Linked DNA regions of Homo sapiens: region 1 is linked to region 2. The links are contacts of gene promoters, found by promoter capture Hi-C in blood cells and fetal thymus (Javierre and others, 2016). All regions are on one chromosome and are shown on one strand. Each heading gives the region's core, a stretch centred on a gene start or on the middle of the fragment in contact. The rest is flanking DNA. Distances are from core to core; before and after follow the strand shown.

Region 1 (5,109 bases), core at 1,992-4,491, 270 kb before region 2:
AACATTCTTAACCTCCACTCTATAAAGCGAAATCTATATCTCAAATGAATAAAACAAATGGTGGAACTTCAGCACAGGACTCTAGCCTTCACTCCTGGAGCCACCAACCCCAGCCATAGGTCCAAATCTATCCCAGCTTCTGGCCCTTTTCTGACCTCAGAACCTCTGTCCAGTCCCTGGTTTCTTGCCAATTACCCGTGCCCAGTCATGACTCTCCCTTTCTGCTAGATCCCTGGTCAGCATGTCAGGTTCCCAGAGCTGAGACTGACTCCCTAATTCTCATGAGAACTAAAGTCTTTCTTGCCTCTGAATCCCAGTTCCTAGTCCCCTCTTATCAGACCAACTGGTATCACACTATGCCTCCTTCTCTGGATTTCTTACTATTCTGGTTTCATTGACATCTGCAGATCACTTCCGTGTCTCTGTATTTCTGGCCGATCTCTAAGGTCTAGCCATCCTCAGTCTAGCCTGACCCGAATTGGGAGGAGAGAAGTGGAAAGAGACAGAGACTTGTGAAGGCAGGAAGGGCAACTGTATGAGAGGCTGAGCGAGTGGAGAGATTTGAGAATATGGGTAAGGCTGAGGCTGAGAGCCTAGAAGCAGAGCTGGCTTTATTCTTAGGTGGAGTATGTGACCCAGACCCTTCCAAAATACCCTATTCCAATAGCTACTTGGGGGAATGAAATCCCTTTAAGAGGATGTTTGCAAAGAACTGAGAATATAGAGCCCAGGTGAGGAGAAACACCTACTGTACTTAATGTTACAGTAGAGTACATGCCTTTCTAAATGTTCACTTTGGTTGAGGAGGACACTCAGTATCTGAAAGAAAAAGGGAGAGAACCTTGTAGTGAAGAATTGTAGCCAAAAGGGAGAGTTCAAGAATATTCACAGGCATAGATATCCCAACCAGGCAGAGATGACAACTTGACTCAGGTCCAGCCTTGCCTAGACATAGTGCCTTCATCATACTACAGATGTGGTTTCTTTTTGGATGTGGTTTCTGACTTTGTTTGAGCAGATGGCCCTGACAGAAAACTTAACATTATCTGCTGTTTATTATGCACTGCCCTGTAAGACCACCACATGTGTGATAGTCCCTACAATATAGGAAGGAGCCAATTGAAGAGTTCATATTTTGGGCAACTCTACTCCCTTTTTCCTACTCCAGAGTTTAGGGACAGCTGTTGAGCAAATGGAGGAGGCAGTTAGAACTAGCCCAGGGCTTCTCAAATTTTAGTGTACACATGATCACCTGCAGGTCTTGTTAAAATGCAGATTCTGACTCAGTAGGTTTGGGGTGGGATTCAGAGTTTGAATTTCTAAGAAGCTCCAAGGTAATGCTAATGCTATCAGTTGGGGGGACACACTTTAGATAGCAAGGCTATTTCTGCCATTCTGCATTCTAATACATTAACCTGCTTCCTCATAACCTGTGAAGTGCTGAACAAATATGAAGGAATCATATTGCACTTTTATTTGATGAACCTGCCAACCCTAAATAGAATGAACAAATAAGCCCCATGAAGGAGAGAGAAGAAGTGGTGGCTGCCCATTAACAACAACAACAACAGTAAAATTATACAGGCCAAGAGGGAGAGTTATATTTTCCCCAAGTTTCCTACAGCTGTTTATTGGTCATGGGGCGCATAAAACATCTTATGAATGTTTCACTGCCGAAGAAAAATTGCTTCAAGCTGAGCTAGGATAGGAGTTAGGTATTACCATGGATATGAATATATTTTCACAGTTCAGCTCAATTACCACATTGTTTATCATGTTGCTTTACAACATTGCAGACTATTAAAGCTACTTTTTCATTTTACAGTATAGGAAACTAAGGCTGGCCAGGCAGGTGATTTCAATTTGCTCAAAGTCACATGGCTAGTTAGTATCAGAACTGAACTAGAACCACCCAATGAGCACAGTGCTCTTTCTACTGCAAGGATTTGTTAAAATAGTGTCTGAACAGGGGAAAGATTTTAAGTTAATTGGTCACAAGTGGTCCCCATACCCTGCTGTGGGGAGCTTAGCGGAGGTTCCCTGAATAAAAACATAGTTTGGGACTGGAGAAGAAATTTTCCAGGCTCTCGGTCACTCAAACAAATAGACATCTTTTTGAGCATGGATTGCCCATTTGTTTATTCAACAAACACTTGTTGAGCCCTGTGCTGGCTGGGGATAGAAATTTTTTTAAAACCCACAGTCCCTGCCTTGACAGAGCTTAGAATCCACTGAGGAGAGACTGATGTATAAATACTAAGTTCAATAAACTCCCATAGCTATTGGGGGGGGGGGCACAAGAGATGGTTTCAGAAACGAAGTAATCAGCCAAAAAGGAAAGCAGGCCAGCTAATCACTGAGCATGATGTAAGGCAGAAACTTAAGTGCAGTATGGTCAGAGTTTAGTGTAAAGAGGGAGGGAGGGATCTTTGTAAGCTACAGAGTTCACGGAAGGCTTTTTGGAAAGGTTAAGTCTAGAAGTAAGCTTTGGAGTATGTGTAGGAATCATATAACCAGAGAGGATACTTCAGATGAGGAACAGCATGAGCAAAGGTAAAGATACAAGAAAGTATATTGTCTATTTGGGGATGGCCCTTCAGATATTAAGTTTAAAACTGTTCTTAAATCACCCTTCACCTTTTGCTTCTCTTTTGCCTTTCCTATAAGTACCTCTGGCCAGCAGGTTACATTTGAATTGTTTCTTTACTCTCCAACTTCACTCTTCATGCTCACTGTGCCTCTGGTAGTCTGCAAGGCCACCATGTACAGTTGTGCATGTTGTTCACTGCACAAAGGATACCCAGTCATGGAGGTGAATGGGGGCTGAAATCCATACTGCACTGTACTCACCAAGTAATGCTTTCCTTTCCTAGTTTGATACATGTGCTTGCTAGGCCATGCCCCCAACCCAAAAAGGAGCACTTTTTCCAGTTTACAGAAAGGTACCCTAGCAGTGGCTGAGGCACTAAATCATATGTAGATGAAAGGTAAATAAGTGAGGTAAATAAGATTTATCTCTGATTTGTTCCAGCTTCAAGTCTTTACAGCTGAAGCCACTAATGAAGCCACCACAGTTCCACCACAGTTTTTATGCTAATCATGACTAAAGTAGGAAAAGTAGCAAGAGCCCCAGGGACCCTTCAGGAAGCTTAGAAGTGTCACTTCCCTGGATCCTGCATGAGGTGACCCAGAGATGACCTATGCCTGATGTGGCTCCCTTGATTTCATTTCTCTCTAATCCTAAACTGGATGACTAAGTGGTACCATTTCCCCTGACTCAGTTATTCTTTCTCATAAGAAAACTACACTTCTGTATGACTCACAACCAAGCTTATTCCTTATTTCTTATCTCCCCTACCTGGCAGTACCACCAAAATCATCCTTAGAAATCAACTGGACACGCACTTGCCATACCCACCTACCATGGTTGGTAGTCTTGTGCCAAATCCTGACTCCCTTTTCCTTCCCACCTGTCCTGTGCCACCAAGAGCCACTCTTCCCCACAAGCTACCAATCGGAGCTTTCAGACCTCCAAGTTTCCCTGGCTTTATCAGGCTTAAAGGGCTAAGCCTCTATAATATAAAAACCCAATAGTACAGGGAGTCAAAGAACTCACCACTTGTCAAGTTTCTCTCCACTTGACAGTCCAGAGCACATAGGTGGCCTACTCAACTCATTCAGTCACTCATGGACTTGGGTTGATTCCTTCATGTTTCTCTGCCCTTCTGTAAGGCAACAGCCTTATCTGCCAGTTTCAAAGCTGAGTAATGTGTGCTATGGGCACATCCATATTTCTTCTGTTAGAGGAAAAAAGTAAAGAGAAGCACATGTGCAAAGTTTAAAGAGCTGGGCCTAGAAAAAGCACACATCACTCCTACTTACATTTCACTGGTCTCAGAGCCACACCAGACCACAAAGCGGGCTGGAAAATGTACGTAAGTACCTAGCTGGACATCCTCACCCTGGCTACAGGTCTATTATTAAGGAAGATGCCAAACTATCAGTAAAAAGCATCTATTTTGTCATAATTTTTTACCCATGATAGAAACTTCATGATCAAGTATAATAAAGTTCAACCAATTTAAATAGAATCAAACTTAATGTATTAATAAATGTGTTTAAAGCATAGCATATACTTTTCCCTTACGCACTGTTTCTCAAAGTGTGGTGCATGGACTCTGGGTGATCCAGGGCCACTGATCATTCCCAGAAACCTAGCCAGTGACAGAGGAAAAAGCAATAATATTATTTCTTTACATACCTTCCACATATTTGAGATGTAAGGCTAATTATGATTTTTTACAGCAATCACATTACATTCTTTTTGTCAAATTACATTCTTAACCATCCTTATGTATTTTTTTTTTGAGACATGATCTTGCTGTGTCACCCAAGCTGGAGTGCAGTGGTGCGATCCTGGCTCACTGCAACCTCCACCTCCCAGGCTCAAGCAATCCTCCCACCTCAGCCTCCCAAGTAGCTGGGACTACAGGCATTCACCACCACACCTGGATACCTTTGGTATTTTTTTGTGGAGACCAGGTTTAGCCATATTGCCCAGACTGGTCTTGAAGTCTTGAGCTCCAGTTAAGAGAATAAACTTCCGGCTGGGTGCGGTGGCTCACGCCTGTAATTCCAGCACTTTGGGAGGCCGAGGTGGGTGGATTGCCTGAGGTTAGGAGTTTGAGACCAGCCTGACCAACATGGTAAAACCCCATCTCTACTAAAAATACAAAAATTAGCCAAGCGTGGTGGCACATGCCTGTAATCCCATCTACTCAGGAGGCTGAGGCAAGAGAATCACTTGAACCCAGGAGGCAGATGTTGCAGTGAGCCGAGATCATGCTACTGCACTCCAGCCTGGGTAACAGAGAAAGACTCTGTCTCAAAAAAAAAAAAAAAAAAGAAAAAACTTTTGAGGAGGTCGAGGACCCCGAGAAATGAGGGGGTTTGCCTAATGTCAAGCACTGGGTGTGCAAACCTGCAGCTGCTGTGACAGTTTCTGGCAGTGAGTCTCTGACACGAACAGCTCCCTCTGTTCAGGGAGGACCCGGGCACCCTCACTTTGAGTCTTGGTCTTACTTTTCATCTAAAAGGGTGGAGCGGATC
Region 2 (5,408 bases), core at 822-3,321:
TCTTTCAGTGTTTTTCTCAAAGTGTGGTCCATGGACCACAGAATCAGAATCACTTGGGGTGTTTGTTAAAGAAGTGATTAATAAGACTGCCACAGACCTACTGTTTCAGAATCTCTGGGGAATGAGGTACAGGAATCTGTATGTTAAAAAAAAAAAACCCAAAACCAGATGGTTCTTTTGGAAACTAACACTTGAGAATCAGTGCTTTATTCCAACTCAAGATTTTTAAATGCTTTCATCTGTTGAATATTTTAGGTTTTGTCTGTTCATCTATCAAGTATAGCAAACAGTATGCTTAGTATGAACTCATTACAGAATATTTGTGTGTATGTACATAGGAAAAATATCTGGAAGTATAGATGTGGGTGTGTGTATATATGTGTGTAAATATATATAATAATGTTAATAGTAGGAATACAGATGATCTCTATTTTTCCGCTTTATCCTTCTGTTTTATTTCTCTCATTTTTTTCTTCCTGTGTTTAAAAAAGATGCTTCTTGTTTCTGAGCTCAATTCCCCCACCTGAGAACAGGGTGCTGTAACTAGGTGAATTTCAAGATCATGTCTTGTTCCGATGGTCCGTGACTCCATACTACCCCCTAGGTTCCCTCGTCCATCTCACAGCATGAACTGCATAGGTAACAACAGTGTTTGGAGAATAAGCATGTATTATTTTTGTATGTATTACGTTTGAGATGCCTAGCAACCGTTTTTGTGCCCGCAAAATTTTTCTCTTCTTTGTCAAGGAGCCAAAACGGAAATAGTCTACTATCTACGGCCCTCAAAAGTTCCTCCTCTCTCCTTAGCCTTAGAAAATACCGTCCGCCATAGGCATGGGCAAAGACCTCATGGCTAAAACACCAAAAGCAATCGCAACAAAAGTCAAAATTGACAAATGGGATCTAATTAAAAGAACTTCTGCACAGCAAAAGAAATTAGCATTAGCGTGAACAGGCAACCTGCAGAATGGGAGAAAATTTTTGCAATCTACCCATCTGACAAAGGTCTAATATCCAGAATCTACAAGGACCTTAAACAAATTTACAAGAAAAAAACAACCCCATCAAAAAGTGGGCAAAGGATATGACCAGACACTTCTCAAAAAAAGACATTTATGCAGCAACAAACATGAAAAAAAGCTCATTATCACTGATCATTAGAGAAAGGCAAATCAAAACCACAATGAGATACCATCTCACGCCAGTCAGAATGGTGATTATTAAAAAATCAGGAAACAATAGATGCTGGCGAGGCTGAGGAAAAATAGGAATGCTTTTACACTGTTGGTGGGAGTGTAAATTAGTTCAACTATTGTGGCAGACAGTGTGGCGATTCCTCAAAAATCTAGAACCAGAAATACCATTTGACGCATGCACACGTATGTTTATTGCAGCACTATTTACAATAGCAAAGACTTGGAACCAACCCAAATGCCCATCAATGATAGACTAGATAAAGAAAACGTGGCACATATATGCCATGGAATACTATGCAGCCATAAAAAAATGAGATCATGTCCTTTGCAGGGACATGGATGAAGCTGGAAGCCATCATCCTTAGCAAACTAACACAGGAACAGAAAACAAAACACTGCATGTTCTCACTCATAAGTGGGAGTTGAACAATGAGAACACATGGACACAGGGAGGGGAACAACACACACGGGGGCCTGTCAAGGGGTGGGGGCCAAGGGGAGGGAGAGCATTAGGAGAAATACCTAATGCATGTGGGGCTTAAAACCTAGATGACGGGTTGATAGGTGCAGTAAACCACCATGGCACATGTATACCTATGTAACAAAGCTGCACATTCTGCACATGTATCCCAGAACTTAAAGTAAAATTAAAAAAAAAAAAAAAAAAGAAAGAAAAAGAAAAAGAAAATGCCGTCCGCGCATATCTCTCAGGAGCATAGGAAGGGCTGTGAACCAAAAAGCCAGGGCGTGGTCGCCCCGCCCACCGGCCGCTACATCACCACCCCTCTCGCCGCTTTCAAGCGCGGAGATTGGCTGTAAGCAAGAAAGAGCCCCGCCCCTAGTCTTATGACTCGCACTGAAGCGCCGATTCCTGGCTTTTGCAAGGCTGTGGTCGGTGGTCATCAGTGCTCTTGACCCAGGTCCAGCGAGCCTTTTCCCTGGTGTTGCAGCTGTTGTTGTACCGCCGCCGTCGCCGCCGTCGCCGCCTGCTCTGCGGGGTCATGGTGTGCTTCCGCCTCTTCCCGGTTCCGGGCTCAGGGCTCGTTCTGGTCTGCCTAGTCCTGGGTGAGTTGTCGGGCCCTCCCGATTAGTCTGTCCGCCTGGGCCCGGGGCACCAGTTCAAAGCTACAACCTGAAAGACTGGTCCGAGGGGGAGGGGGTTGAGAGGCTCAGCAGCTAACACTGGGCGGCGGCGGTTGGCCCGGGGAGGCAAGCGGTGACCTAGAGAAGGCCTGACCGACGGATGGCGGGGAAGAAGGGCCCAGGAGAGTAAGAAGGGGCCGGTAACGGGGGGTGGACGCCGAGGGAGTAGGCTGGGAGGAGTGAAGCGTGGAGAGGGTCAGCGTGGAAAGAGTAACTTGGGGAAAACACTGAGGAGTGAGCGTAGGAGGGTGGTACATGCAGATTTTGGGCGCCAGAGACAATTAGGAGAGTCTTGGTTTGCTGAGATCAGGGAAGAGTTTTGAAGATGGTGGAAAAACTATGGGGTGAGATAGGAAATTAAGAGAGAAGACCATGCCTGCCTGGAGTAGCTTGGGAGAAGTGTGTGGGTGGGGGACAGATGGGACAGATAGGACAGTAGAGCCTGAGGGGCAGGGGCAGTGACAGGGTTGGGCATTTTGAAGGTTGGAATTTGAGACTGTGAAGAAAGGATGATTCAAGAGATTAGGAGTGATGCTGGGTTTGAGTTTGGTAGTCATAGTTTTAAGGGCGAAGGAACCTAAGGTAGCTGGGGCAATTTCCAGGAAAGAAAACTTGGACCCAACCTCTGGAGACTAAGGGGTTCAGGGGGAACTTTGATGGGGAGTGCACATCTGACTTGGAGGTATTGAGGATGTCGATTTTCTCCCAGTTTTGCTACTTCCTCCCAGCCAGACGCTGACAAAAAAATCCCCAGACGTTTCAGTTAGGAGGGCCTCCCAGATGTGAGGTTTTGGGGGTGGAGTATTTGAGTTTGGTAGACTACCTCTTTGCCTTCAGAGTTTCTTCTTTTCTTTCTTCCCCATCACACAGCTAGCCTATTACCTCATATTTTGGGGGTGCAGGGAGCAGGTAGACAAACTTGCTAAGGATTGGGTTGTTACCAGGGCCTAAGAATGGCTGGATGGGGCCGGGCGTGGTGGCTCATGCCTGTAATCCCAGCACTTTGGGAGGCCGAGGTGGGTGTATCACCTGAGGTCAGGAATTCAAGACCAGCCTGGCCAACATGGTGAAACCCCGTCTCTACTAAAAATACAAAAATTAGCCGGGCGTCGTGGCACATGCCTGTAATCCCAGCTGCTTGGGCGGCTGAGGCAGGAGAATCGCTTGAACCCAGAAGGCGGAGGTTGCAGTGAGCCAAGATTGCGCCATTGCACTCCAGCCTGGGCGACAAGAGTGAAACTCTGTCTCAAAAAATAAAAATAAATAAATCAATAAATAAATGGCTGGGTGAATGTTCGCTGATTGTGTTGTGCCCTAATAGGCAGTGGGTCGCTAACAACTTTAATGCCTAAAAGTGAACTTTGACTAAAGTGTCTCTTCCTGACTTTGATTCATGCTGTGCTTGTTGCTACCCACCTGCTCTTGCTATTTGTGACTTAATAAAATAACATAAAGAACAGACCCAGATGGGAGTGGGGAAGAAATAGACATATTAGGGGTCTGAGAAAGCAGTGAGAGGTATACATTTTGTAATTCACATTTCAGTAGAATGAAATCAACACCCTGGAATAGTGATTCTCAACCAGGGGACATTTGGCAACATCTGGAGACATTTTTGGTTGTAACAACTGGGGGATTGCTTTTAGCATCTAGTGGGTAGAGGCCAAGGATGCTGCTAAACATCCTAACTAAGCACAGGGCAGCCCCTGACAACAAAGAATCATCTCCCTGAAAATGTCAATGGTGCCAACATTGATAAATCCTGCTCGAAAACCATAGTATTGGAAGGGTTCTTGATTATCTAATTCAGTGACTCTCGAGGACCTTTTCATGCGTCTGTGAAATCAAAACTTCGGAATAAGGTTAAGAAGGTATTTGTCCTTTTCTGCTGGGCACAGTGGCTCACGCCTGTAATCCCAGCACTTTGGGAGGCTGAGGCGGGCGGATCACCTGAGATCAGGAGTTCAAGACCAGCCTGACCAACATGGTGAAACCCAGTCTCTACTAAAAATAGAAAAATTAGCCGGTGTCGTGGCACATGCCTGTAATCCCAGCTACTTGGGAGGCCGAGGCAGGAGAATCGCTTGAACCCAGGAGGCGGAGGTTGCGGTGAGCCAAGATTGCGCCACTGCATTCCAGCCTGGGCAACATGAGCGAAACTCTGTCTCAAAAAAAAAAAAAAAAAAAGAAGTTATTTGTCCTTTGTCCTTTTCACTCTCATCCTCTCACCAGTGTACAGCAGAGTTTTCCAGTGGCTACGTAACATGTGATGACCTCACCACTCTGATGTTCTTATATTTTATTCATTTCTCAGTTTTAATTTCTAATACTGTAAATACCAATACATATGACTCACATAAACCTCTGTGAAGTCCTCAGTGGATAAGAAAGTAAAGGGGTCCTGACACCAAAACTTTGGGAATCCCTGATGTAGTCCAACTGTTCACAGCGCGCAGGAAACTCTTCTGTAGCACTTCTGAAAGGCGGCCTTGAGGCAGGCTTTGCTTGAATACTTAATTGGAAGCCTTAACTGTACCTTGGAGCACTTACTGAGGGCCAACTGACCCTAAGAAAGGATTGTTTACAATGGAAAGTACCTTATCAGTGACTAGAACACATCTGACCAAGGCATCTGTTAATCAGTAGTTCCCTGCCAATTGAATCTGTGCACAAATACAACACTGTTATTGTTTTGGGAAAGTGAAAAAAATAATAGTTGTCCTACTTGTTGGCTTTCATGTCATTAAATTTTTTTTTGTTTTTTAATGAAAGCTTTTTTGTTTTGTTTTTACAAAAGCAATGCTTACTCACTGCAGAAAATAAACATGCAAAAAGAAGCACATAAAAGAACCCATCAGCTCATCTGCTAGTTTGCCATTTATTGATCAGGACTAACTAGATTCTTCCTCTTGGAAAATTTCCAAGATTGATTCCCTCCGCCTCCAAGTTCAGAGCAGGATTTGGAAAAGTAAATATTAATAATGTACCTAGATCTGATTTTTAAGAGGTTCCAGGATGAAATAGAAACCATTTTTCTATACAGCTGCATTTTCTGATGGCTCTTGGTTC

The links. Contacts are between HindIII fragments. The CHiCAGO score rates a contact against its expected background, and 5 or more counts as called.
Region 1: a contact is called between a fragment that was not itself captured here and the fragment with the promoter of LAMP2 in region 2, in 1 of 17 cell types (fetal thymus). The highest score is 5.1, in fetal thymus.

What each region holds. Positions count from the first base shown.
Region 1 is chrX:120,735,356-120,740,464 of GRCh38, reverse strand. No RefSeq gene overlaps it. Among named protein-coding and RNA genes, the nearest start is that of C1GALT1C1, 110 kb to the right of the region's middle. RefSeq lists an enhancer at 2,779-3,978. The HindIII fragment of the contact is 182 bases long and covers 3,151-3,332 here.
Region 2 is chrX:120,465,959-120,471,366 of GRCh38, reverse strand. It overlaps LAMP2 (lysosomal associated membrane protein 2), which reads left to right and starts at 2,071. Exons shown (of 9, transcript NM_002294.3): 1 at 2,071-2,261. The coding sequence starts at 2,198. RefSeq lists a silencer at 1,869-2,133. The HindIII fragment of the contact is 7,034 bases long and covers 1-5,113 here.